Regions from separate parts of the Homo sapiens genome. Here region 1 is linked to region 2. Evidence: promoter capture Hi-C in 16 types of primary human blood cells and fetal thymus (Javierre and others, 2016). All regions are on one chromosome and are shown on one strand. The core of a region is centred on a gene start or on the middle of the fragment in contact, and the rest is flanking DNA. Distances in the headings are between cores, read along the strand shown.

Region 1 (6,097 bases), core at 1,108-3,607, 470 kb before region 2:
AATAGAGAATTCTGTCTTTAATTTTTAAGGCACACACACACACACACACTCTCCTAATTTAGGGTCCTGAGAGCTTAGCATTTTTCATAAATCTTCTCCCTAACTGAAATTGCTTAAAGTAGCTAATATGTGGACCCCTTATTCAAGTATTTTGGGCTTAAACTGTTATTTGTTTCAATTTCGATGGAAAAGGATATAAAAGCCTACATACAGACTAAAGTTTCTTAACCCATAGTTAGTGGTTTTCAAAAGCCTATGTATTTGTCAAGTGTAGTTCAAATTTGTTCTCAGGCACTAAAAAAATGACACTAATATTCCCAATAGAATATATTTAGAATTAATAATAATTGCTAAACTTCCCATTTGCCAGGCCCTGTCCCAAGCACTTTACTTTTAATAACTTATTTGGACTTCACAGCAATACACAGAAATAAGTACAATTACTTCAACAGTGAGAAATGAAGTCAAATACCCTTTCTGCATCCAGAATTCTGTCTCTGCCATCTAGTTGACCAATTACTCTTATCCCGTGTTAATGACTGCCAAATAGCAATTTGAAACAAAGATTAATTTATTGGATTGTCTAGCAAGGGTGGTCTGTATTACTCAGCTATGAGCACTTCTTACTAAGCAGAAACTAAAAGAAATAGATTTAAAGTCAAAAGAGGAGAAAGAGAATATTCTGAGCCCAGGCCTCTGGATTGTTTACATCCTGTTTTGTAACGGTGGCTTACAGGTTTTGCACCATTGCTACAGAGAAGCTTCTTTTCCAACAAGTCCAGGATGAATTGTGTAAGATTCCTGTGGGCCTAGGGTCATCAGGCTACACGCACATGTTTAAAGTTTAGCAAGATTTCTATTTAGCATTAAGCAAATACCATGTGGCAACAGATCTGTATATGTGGTAAGACTGGAGTTTGGCTGGAGTGAAATGAATGTGAATCAGATGCTTCTACATTTCTCTATTCTCTGAGAGCACCCGCACATTCACCACAAAAAAGACCATAGGAGATGAACTCTAGTCATTTCTAACTTGCTTACAAGCATTCTATTTAGAAATTGTTCTGCATATAGTGCTCCCGGGTCTTATAGGAAAGACACCATAAACTATGAAGAAAAATTTTGTTGGTTCTACTAGGATTTAAAAACGTGGAAGCCAGGCATAGCCATACCACTACTTAAGATAAAGAAAAAAAAAGAATAAAAGCAAACAAAAAATGATAGCTATTTCAGATTACTTGAGCCTAGTTCATCTTTGCCTCCTCTGTCACTAGCAAAGGATATATTTCTAATTCCCACTGGCTCAGGTTTATCTTCCTGCTTAGTTAACAGCAAGACATGAGGAGAGCATAAAAAAATGTGCCATGGGTTGATAGAGTTGCTGCAAAAATCTCATCCCAAGAGCTGTTTCATGTCAAGCATCTAGGTTGGGATGAGGGAAGGGATGACATCACCCCAGTTCTCTCCCTCACCAGCAGCAGCTTGCCACAGCAACAGCAAAGCCACCAGACACACACACTGCTACATCTGGTTGGATATGGAGGAAAACCTTACTCAGAGTAGAAATAAGAAATTGTCTATTAGGTTGCTTCCTTCTCTACCCCCAAGTTTTTCCTCAAATTATTCGTTTGAATAAAGCAGTTGTTGTTCCTTGAATTTCCCTTTCAAAAACATTCTCCTGGAAAGGACAACCACTCAGTCATATTAATTCCCTGCTCAAAACTTTCCAGCTAATTCTGACTCTTTATCAAATGCTACACATCAGTGACAAAATAACCTACTGGAACAGAAAGCTGTCTAAATATGTAAAAAATGAACTAATTTCTATCTTGTGCATTAAAATCTTTCTAAGAGAATGTAATTAATTGTTCACACTGAAAATATACTCCAGTTTTACAACTCTTATGATTTTATAACTGACACCAGAAGACATAAAAACAATTCAGAGTAATGCAAACCCAATTACCAAATATTATCGAATGTAGAGAAGCAATAGAAAAGCATCAGTTAGGGCCCAAGAGGGTAGTCAGCAAGCCATTATGAAATCTGAAGTTGGGACAACTTCCTAGCATTTCTGTTACTGAAAACCAGTCCATGATTAAAACTGAGGAACAGATAGCAAAGACACATTTTCCTCCAAACCTGCAGTATTACAATAGCCTGGATATAACCAACACAGTTGAGCAGACATCAGCAGAGAGTTAACACAACCAGCAACTAGGAGTCAGAAATTTACCCAAATATCTCTGCTCAGTTTCAATTCACAAGATTCTTGGTTTATCTGATACTATCTATTTTTAGCATCATGAAATTTGTATAGATTCACTCTTCAGGTTGTTTTGCAGGTAACAAAAATAGCAAAGACCTATCCTCTATAATCTGAGAATTTATTCTCCAGACACAAAAGGATGCTTCAACAGAAAATAATTTGCAAAGAATTATAAAACAATATGACAACAACCATAAAGTAATATCTTATGAATTTAATACATATAAGCTGAAGATTTACATTAGAAAGTAATCAAACTAGGATAGGTTTAGCCAGAAAAGGCCTCCTGAAGATGGTTTTGTAACACATTTTAAAGGGACTTAACAGACATCAATTTTCAGTGGGAAGAATGGAAGGTACTAGCAAAGTCAAAGATACTGTATTATTTCTAGTGAAAAGACCATGATGTAGAGAAATAAAAGAGGATCTAACCAGGCCGGAGAATGTAGCAAACCCTGTAGAAGGAAACATTGTAATGTGGGATCTGAAATCCAATTAGATTTTTTGCATGTTGGCTAGTTTTATACTTGAAATAATACAGCTCCTCTTAAACAGGAAAAACTATACAAAACATTTGCACAAAACTTTAGGAATTTTATAGCATTTATATTCTCTCTAATTATAAAAGTAACAACTGTTCATGGTAGAACATTTGAAAAATATAGTAAAGTACAAAGAAGAGAGTTAAAATCTTCTATAATACCACATTTAGACATAACAACTGTTAACTCAGAGTCTTTCAATTTAGTCTGTGTATGTGTGTGTGCATATATATATATGTGTGCATACATGATGCCCTTTGTACACAAAATTGGACATCTTACTGCTCATACCATTTCGTGTATTTTTTCCACTTTCAATATTTTGAAACAAGCAGTCTGCTTTACGTGACACTTCTCATAGGACTTTTTTGTCATTCCGGTTTCATTGACACTTATTTTTTTCAATCTCCATTATGTCTGGCAAGTAGGAAAAATTTCAAATAAATCCCCAGTTATATTATCTGAAAGAAGTAATCATTAGCTGAAGAAATATCGTAGGTCGATACGAACATATTTTGGTTTCCTAGACTAAAATATTCAGAGATGACTAAGTTAGTAAAGATTTGATACACCCCAATTCTGTTAGGCAATAAGGAACTAACCTCTTGTTCCAAATATCGTTTGTCTCGTCTTCAAATTAGTGAAGAGACACTTTTGTTTACCACTGTCAATGTCATTATCAAATCCCATTTTTGAAAGAAGTGTGTCATGCCCAGGGCATAAAGTCCTCAGTGATTTCATTGGTTCAAAGAGGTTGCATTGTACTACTTTTCCATCACCCTCTAAATAGTGTGACATGGACCAAAGTCAAGCATGTCTCCTTCGAAAATCAGCTTATCCCACTCAGGCACAAAAGCAGTAGTTCATTTTTACTACATCTCCATGGGGGGCATTCGATTCAAAAGAGAGATTCAAAAAGCACTATAGTTACTCAAGGTAACAATTATTTTTCTTCATGAAAAAAACAAAGTTATTTCCATTATGCATTTGAGTTTCTTATTGAGAATTTCTACTAGTTTGTTTGCTTCAGTATTCTCCATAGTAACAAATACAGGGAAGCAGCTTTTCCCTTTGTAGTGAATGATCCACAGATAGAGAAACACAACATTGGTGACTGTTTCCCTATCAACTAATGAAGCTTTCCTCTGGAGATGCTTATGTGCCCAGTAGCCTGGGTAAGGTGACATGAGCAGACAAATATTATATGCCTTGCTCTCCCTCTATTTTGGAAAACTTAATGTTACAGGAAATAGAGCATTTCAATACAGGATGAAAATAACATCAAGTGAGAAGGCCTCTATGCTGACAGCTGCACAGAACTATTTACTTTCCTCTACCATGTGAAGTAGAGTGACCTTTCCAAAGCCTGGCGGCTAGAAATAGTCAACGAAATGCTGGCAACCTTAGCTGGTGACTTAGTTGTTTTAAATGAGAAAATGTATATAAACATATCACTTAGGTTTGGACACTTGCAAAAATATTGAAAGATCAAATATTTCTAGAATCTGCATAAATGCTTACAGATTTCTATATCAGACACTGCAAAGGGAAATGTTCAGAGACTGGCAATTTCTTTTCTACACAACATGTGTTTCTTCTGTGTAGACAGAGAAAAGCAAATCAACTTCCTGGACATTACAGTGAGAACTGGTTCAGGTGGACCCATGCTAGTCAAACCAAAACAGTCATTTATAAAACTCTATGCCATAGGGTTCATAGGATTCCAGGAAAAGACTTCTAAAATGCTCCCTGAGGTGAGCTACATTGAAGAAGCATACTGCAAATTTAAAAATAAAAACAACAGGTCAGTTTTCTTCCACATATTTTCTTCAAACCATTGTGACTCTAAGTCCAAAAGAGTTATATATAGGAATGAAATAAACACAAAGGCAGAGGAAAAGACAGCCCAAGTCAATGCATAGAGATAGCACATGATCTAATTTTTTTAAGTTGTTAGCTAGTTGAACATTTTACATAGCAATACATTGAGTCAAAAATGAGTTGACTCAGTAAAATAAATATTTGAATAGAATGAAACTTACAATAAAAATAATTCAGGGCCAGGCACAGTGGCTCATGCCTGTAATCCCAGCACTTTGGGAGACTGAGGCTGGTGGATCACCTGAGGTCAGGAGTTCAAGACCAGCCTGGCCAACATGGTGAAACCCCATCTCTACTAAAAATACAAAAATTAGCCAGGCGTGGTGTTGGGTGCCTGTAATCCCAGCTACTCGGGAGGCTGAGGCAGAGAGAATTGCTTAAAACCCAGGAGGCAGAGGTTGCAGTGAGCTGAGATTGGGCTACTGCACACCAGCCTGGACGACAGAGCAAGACTGTGTCTCAAAATAATAATAATAATAATCTGGCATTTACTTATATTATGCATCACTATATGACGATGAGGCCTAAGCTTTTATAAACAATACACATATTCTAAATACTATCTTAGTATAGTCAAATTGAGTGCTTCTAGAGTTCTCTGGAAGGAGAAGAAAGAGGAACCCCTAAAGATTAATGAACTCACAACACAAAAGAATCTAGAGGCCAGGCGCGGTGGCTCATGCCTGTAATCCCAGCACTTTGGAAGGCTGAGGCAGGCAGATCACAAGGTCAGGAGTTCAAGACCAGCCTGACAAACATGGTAAAGCCCATCTCTACTAAAAATACAAAAATTAGCCGGGGCGTGGTGGTGGGTGCCTGTAATCCCAGCTACTCGGGAGGCTGAGACAGGAGAATCACTTGAAACGGAAGGTGGAGGTTGCAGTGAGCTGAGATCGTGCCACTGCACTCCAGTCTGGGCAAAAAGAGTGAAACTCTGTCTCAAAACAAACAAACAAACAAAATCTAGAGACCAGCCTTTCTGCTTCTGGGAAATGGGACTCCATGATCTAAAGGCTCAAGAACTAAGAACCACAGATTTTCTGCCATTCCACCCTAACCTCCCCTCAGGGCTGCCTTGTACACCTCTGGGGGAGGAGCTGGCACCATTCATATTCTAGATCATGTGAATGGAGGCCACTGGAATTGTGCAACATGACAGGGTTGAATCCCGGCCAGAGAAGAATATTAGGAGGAGTTGGCTGCTGTTTGCACTCCTCCACCCCTATTCGTACTTTGATTTTCCATTCAAACATTTATTCAACAACTATTTGTGGAGAACTATATCAGTCGGGACTCTTTAATGAAGACGTCAGAAAACCAAACTCCAGCTGGCTTAATCAAAAAGGGAATTTATTGTTTCATGTATACAGGCTTTAAGTGAATAGCTGCTGTCATCAGAATTAAG
Region 2 (6,155 bases), core at 1,839-4,338:
AGGAGAGAGGTCCAGATAAGGAAAAACGTGATGCTCATCAGTAAAAAGCTGACAGCTGGAGTCATGTGTGGAGCTACGACCTCTCAAGGAGTGGGTGTGTACACAATGAGAAGATCAAGCCCCAAGATAGACCATATGTGTAGGCAAAATTCTTAACAAAGACACTGAGACAATATCCAATAGAAAGAGCAAAAAGATCATGCTGCAATGGGCAGTGGGAAGAGAACTTCCAGAGGCCTGCAGTGATCTACAAGGTCAAACCCTGCACAGTGGGTAAGGAAAAACCCTGAAGAATGTTCGTTTGTGGCCACATTTTTTGCAGCCCTCATCAGCCTGTGAGTACAAATGAAGTCACATTGGCCGGGCACGGTGGCTCACGCCTATAATCCCAGCACTTTGGGAGGCTGAGGTGGGCAGATCACGAGGTCAGGAGATCGAGACCATCCTGGCTAACACGGTGAAACCCCGTCTCTACTAAAAATACAAAAAATTAGCCGGGTATGGTGGCGGGTGCCTGTAGTCTCAGCTACTCAGGAGGCTGAGGCAGGAGAATGGTGTGAACCCGGGAGGCGGAGCTTGCAGTGAGCAGAGATCGTGCCACTGCACTCCAGCCTGGGCAACAGAGTGAGACTCCGTCTCAAAAAAAAAAAAAAAAAAAAAAAGAGTAACCACACATATTTCACTAGCTTGTTGCCAACCATCTGTAAAGCAGGACTGATTCTCCCCTAAAAAATGCCCTCACTTCCCACCCTCCAAGGTGTATTTTCTGAGAGTGCCTGGGAGTGTCTCACACAAGCCAAAGGAGAGTCCACACGTGTTAGTCCACACGCACACCCTCTTTCCATCCACAGCACTTGACGCATCTGCAGTCCCCATGGCGGCTTTCCATTGAGATGCCCTAAGGTCCATGCTGGGTTTCAGCTCCTGCTGTACAATGCAGCAGAGGCTTCTATGCTTGTCATTTTTCACTGAGTTGAAGCCACAGCATTTTCTGAGAAATGGAGAGGACACCCGTTCTTTGCCATCTCTTTGTCTCCCATTTTCCACATGGTGCCTCACAAAAAAATTGCCTTTAGCTTGTGCCTTATGGCCATCTGTCCTAAGGCTTCAGACACCAGGCAGTCCCCGGGACTGAGTGAGAGGCAGACAATAGTCTCCCTGGATCCCAGCCTCTTGGGGCAGGTGACTAATTTGCAAAAGGTCAGGATACCTAGCTAAATGGTCATTTGGTGACATAGAGGCCATGATTAGTGTCTGCCAACAATTCAGCAGAATGGTTGACAAGGTCAGATAACAACAAAATGAGAGAATGGAGGTGAGAAAGGTACAGACAGTAAATTTCATGAAAGGGCAGAGGCAGGAAAGCAGGAAATGGGGAGTGGTGGTGGTGGTGGTGGCTTTTAACTTGAACACAGTGGCAGGCTGAGGCACCAGGAAGGGAGGAGCCAACAACAGACCGGAGAAGAGAAAGGCTCTGAGTGAGTAGCAGGTGCAAGTCGTGTGGATAAACCTCAGGCTGAGGGAACTTAAGGCAACAGCCTGAGGGCCCTGAAACAGACCCTGGACCTCCTGGCAGGGGCCTCTGGAAGGAGCCTGGCCACAGGGTTCTGAGGTAAAAGAATGAAAAAAGAGAGGAGGCTCAGACTCTGTGGCAGAGCCTACTTTGGAGGGAAGTGGGAAGTGGGAAGTCCGGAGCCCTGACCACGTGAGGGGCCTCCCAGCCCTGCCACATCCTTTTCTCTGGACAGAGCTGTCACTTAGCTCCCCCTCCGTGACTCAGAATCTGGCTTTCTCATTTTGCCATTTTAATTCTAGTAACGATGAGAGTCACAGTAAAAAGCTGCTTCTGGGAGTGGATTTTCTTCCCTTCCCTTGATCGCAGTATGCTTGGGATTCCTCTTACGTGGCAGTCGTGGTGTCCAGCTCTGGCCTTGGCCCCGCCTCTTTGAAGATACTCTGGTTTCACCATAAAACTTCCTGGGGAAAGGATGATTCACGTTTAAAGGACATAGTTTTTCCTTGATTTGTTTATTTAAGCTACCATACACTAGAGGGGGCCGGAACTAGACCCAGGAGTAGAGGACTTTGCTTTGCGGGATAAGGAGAATGGGCACCCTGGGGAAGAGCGAAAGATTTCCTACTGTTACAACCCGTGTCTTATAACACTTGAAGTGAATGTGGTGTCTGAGTTACAACACTACTTCCCCTCACAAACAGTTAAAAGCAGAGGGTCACAAACATAGGCTCAACCAGAAAAAAAGATTCTCATTTCATCTGTAGTTTTGTATCAAGGATTGTGTTGGAATTTGCCTCCATATTAAACTGCTGTTCAAGGGTTACCAACTCAAATGGTTATGGGGTGAAGCCGGTGTCTCAGGCATGGGCCTGTCGTTGGGACCTGTGGCAAACCAAAGCCACTACTTGCCCTATACAAAGGGGGCAACAGCTGTCAGCCCCAGCAGCTTCCACTAAAAGGTGCAAGCTCTGTATTGCCCGACCTGACTTTTCAGAGAGAAGTTTTAAGTCCGAATTGTTTTGTGAGACCTCCAGATTTTTAAATACTGAGAATGAATTCCATTAAAAAGATCACAACAACAAACACCCACCATACAGTCCAAGCAAAATGCTGTGAGAGCAACCTTCATGAGGAGTGCAAAGTCACAGTTTCAATTTCACTTCTTCTAAAGAGATTTCCAAGTGTTCTGTTTCTTAAGTGATTCTGTTTGCATTTTAAAATACAACTGTATCTCCTAGAGGGAAAACAAGAATTTGCTCTAAGAAGTCACTGCCTCCTCAGCCCCTTTGTGAGTAAGCACTTTATGCTTCCCCAGAGGTGACTAAACTCTGATCATTGCCAATGGGCAGGCACTCCCCAAATGTCCAAGGACAACAAAGATACCCAGAGTGTCTTTCATAGCTACCAATGATTAAATAGCAAGTATTGCATTCCTGGGCATTGCTAACTAGTGAAGTATACCAGATGGAAATGTCTTCGAAGCTGTCCCTTTAAAACTCGAGCAAGCTACCAGGCAAACTCCGCCTCCAGGGAGGTTCCTTATTAAATAGGAGCCAACTGGCTGGGTCGGGGCTCAATACCCCAAGCAATACCTGCAACTGAGGATTCTTCCCGGGGAGACCGCAGCCCATCGGCATGGCTCAAGAGTTTGTGAACTGCAAAATCCAGCCTGGGAAGGTGGTTGTGTTCATCAAGCCCACCTGCCCGTACTGCAGGAGGGCCCAAGAGATCCTCAGTCAATTGCCCATCAAACAAGGGCTTCTGGAATTTGTCGATATCACAGCCACCAACCACACTAACGAGATTCAAGATTATTTGCAACAGCTCACGGGAGCAAGAACGGTGAGTTTCATTTTAAACGGCTAGGGAAAGGCTCCCGGATTGCCTTTTCTTGTCAGAGCTGTGCCTTTCTTTAGGATAAGGCTGCGGCTCCGTACTTCAAGGCGTCCAGAGGGCTGTGCGGGGCGGGGGGTGTGGGGGAGGGCGCCTTAGAGAGGATCTCGGTCACTTGAATGAGCGGCGGCACTGCAGCCAAAGGTCTTCACGGGGCAGAAGAGGGAGTACAGCTGATGTCTGCTGTGCGGCAGGGTAAGTGGGACCAGCAGCTTGCCGGTGAGTCCCTGGGGAATTATCTAGAGTCTTTGTTTTAAGCACTGCCAGGAAATGACAGTTTTCAGTTGGCAGGGCTGGAGGTGGAAGCTGGGGTGGAGGGCCGGGTGTGATGTGTTTGTTATTTAACATGAGATTCATGTTCTTCATTCTTTTCTCTAGGCTTTCTTTTTCTAATTTGCTCATTCTTCCTTATCTAATTCCTCCCACTGGAAAAATCTAATGTACCGTTATCTGCCCCTTGTTCTAAATTAATTATGGATGTTTCCAGGCCCCACATTGTAGGGAATCATAGCCTGGAGTTCTGGCCTGGCTCTTATAATGGCTGGCTGTGTGATCCTGGGCAAGTCACCACCCCAGTAGTCCTCAAAGATCCCAGCTGCAAGACCAGATTAGGTGACCTCAGAGTCCCATTTGCTACGAATAGACTGTGGGACCCTCTAAAAATTGCTCTCCTCCATCCGAAAGACTTCCCTCTCTTCAGCATCCTTGGCTTTGCGTCCTGGGCTTCAGGAGGGATGCCAGCCACATCACCTGTATCAGTTCTGCTGTGAGGTGGGATGAGAAATGTCCCACCAGCTCAGCTAAGTTCTCTTTTACGATGCACGAATTCTACAGCACAGTGTTAGGCCAAGCACATATCCTATTTCAGTTTTAGTTTGACTTACAAGGTTGTCTCTGGGTTCTGAGTATAAAGCATTGGAGGTTGTTTCTCTCCCCTTCTCTCTAATAAGAAGTCAGCATTTTGGTGCAGAAAGGGGGCTTAGTGTGTTATCCTACTGCTGTGTGCTGAGGTCCTGGAGTATACACAATGACGAGAGAAGCTCTTGCTGCCTAGTGGGACCACCAGCTGCATAGGATGCCCAGGCCCTGAGAGGTGTAAAGGGCAGTGCAAACACTACTACGGGCCCCACTGTGGCTGCCACCCTGAGGACCTTTTAGCCATTGGTTCCCAAACTTTGCTGCACATTAGGATCACCTAGAGAGCTTTTAAAACAATCCTTATGCCCAAATTATGCCCCTCAATAACTAAATCACAATGTCAGAGGTGGGAGCCAAGCATTAGTTTTGTTTGTTCGTTTGTTTTGAGACAGTTTCATTCTTGTCACCCAGGCTGGAGTGCAATGGTGCAATCTTGGCTCACTGCAACCTCTGCCTCCTGGGTTCTCCTCAACCTCCCAAGTAGCTGGGATTACAGGCGCCCACCACCATGCCCAGCTAATTTTTGTATTTTTAGTAGAGACGGGGTTTCACCATGTTGGCCAGGCTGGTGTCGAACTCCTGACCTCAGGCGATCCACCTACCTCGGCCTCCCAAAGTGCTGGGATTAAACGGGTGAGCCACCACACCTGGGATTTTTATTTGGAAAAATCCCTTGGGGATTCCAATGTGCAACACAATTGGGATTATTGTTCTCAGCCCAACAGCATCTATTTTCCAGGAGGTAAAGCAAACCTCTTCATGTGTTCATTTAACAATTGCTTTTTTTTTTTTTTTGAGATGGAATTTCGCTCTTGTCGCCCAGGCTGGAGTGCAGTGGTGTGATTTTGGCTTACTGCAACCTCCACCGCCCAGGTTCAAGCAATCAAGTAGCTGGAATTACGGGCACCTGCCACCACACCTAGCTAATTTTTGTATTTTTATTAGAGATGGGGTTTCACCATGCTGGCCAACCTGGTCTCGAACTCCTGACCTCAGGTGATCCACCCACCTCAGCCTCCCAAAGTGCAGGTGTGAGCTACCACACCTGGTCAACAATTGCTTTTTCATTTCTTTGTAGAACAACAATATTTCTTGTAGTAATCTTTTAAGGTTTTTTTTTTTTTTTTTTTTTTTAAGAGACAGAGTCTTGCTCTGTCACCCAGGCTAGAGTGCAGTGGTGCAATGATAGCTGACTGCAGCCTCGAACTCCTGGGCTTAAGTGACCCTCCCACCTCAGCCTCCCGTGGCTGGGACTACAGGCATGAGCCATCATACCCAGCTAATTTTTTAAGTTTTTGTACAGATGGGGGTCTTGTTATGTTACCCAGGCTGGTCTTGAACTCCTGGCCTCAAGCTATCCTCCCACCTCAGCTTCCCAGAGTGCTGGGATTACAGATGTGATCCACCTCAACAAGCCTGTTTTTCATTTTTAGAAAAATGTTTTTCACAGATTCTTGAATTCTGAGTGCATTCCTCCTAGGGGAAGAACAAGCCTTTTAAAGCTGCATGTTTGATCCCCAACAGGGAAGTGTTTGTATTCAAAGGGTCTGAAAGCTCCCGAGGGTTTTTTTTTTTTTTTTTTTTTTTTTGAGACGGAGTCTCCCTCTGTGCCCAGGCTGGAGTGCAATGGCGCAATCTCAGCTCACTGCAAGCTCCACCTCCCGGGTTCACGCTATTCTCCTGTCTCAGCCTCTCGAGTAGCTGGGACTACAGGCGTCTGCCACCATGCCTGGCTAATTTTTTGTATGTTTAGTAGAGACGGGTTTTCACTGTGTTAGCCAGGATGGTCTCAATCTCCTGACCTCGTGATCCACCCGCCTCAGCCTCC

Evidence for each region. The method cuts DNA at HindIII sites, captures the fragments that hold promoters and counts their contacts. A CHiCAGO score of 5 or more calls a contact.
Region 1: a contact is called between a fragment that was not itself captured here and the fragment with the promoter of GLRX in region 2, in 2 of 17 cell types (M2 macrophages and M1 macrophages). The highest score is 9.3, in M2 macrophages.

What each region holds. Positions count from the first base shown.
Region 1 is chr5:96,292,832-96,298,928 of GRCh38, reverse strand. All of the region lies in intron 1 of LOC101929710 (a long non-coding RNA gene), which reads right to left. It also overlaps a transcript of CAST not described here. Among named protein-coding and RNA genes, the nearest start is that of PCSK1, 140 kb to the left of the region's middle. The HindIII fragment of the contact is 3,188 bases long and covers 764-3,951 here.
Region 2 is chr5:95,819,659-95,825,813 of GRCh38, reverse strand. It overlaps GLRX (glutaredoxin), which reads left to right and starts at 3,088. Exons shown (of 3, transcript NM_001118890.2): 1 at 3,088-3,358. The coding sequence starts at 3,152. RefSeq lists enhancers at 1,840-2,340, 2,571-2,660, 4,577-4,716. The HindIII fragment of the contact is 7,969 bases long and covers 1-6,155 here.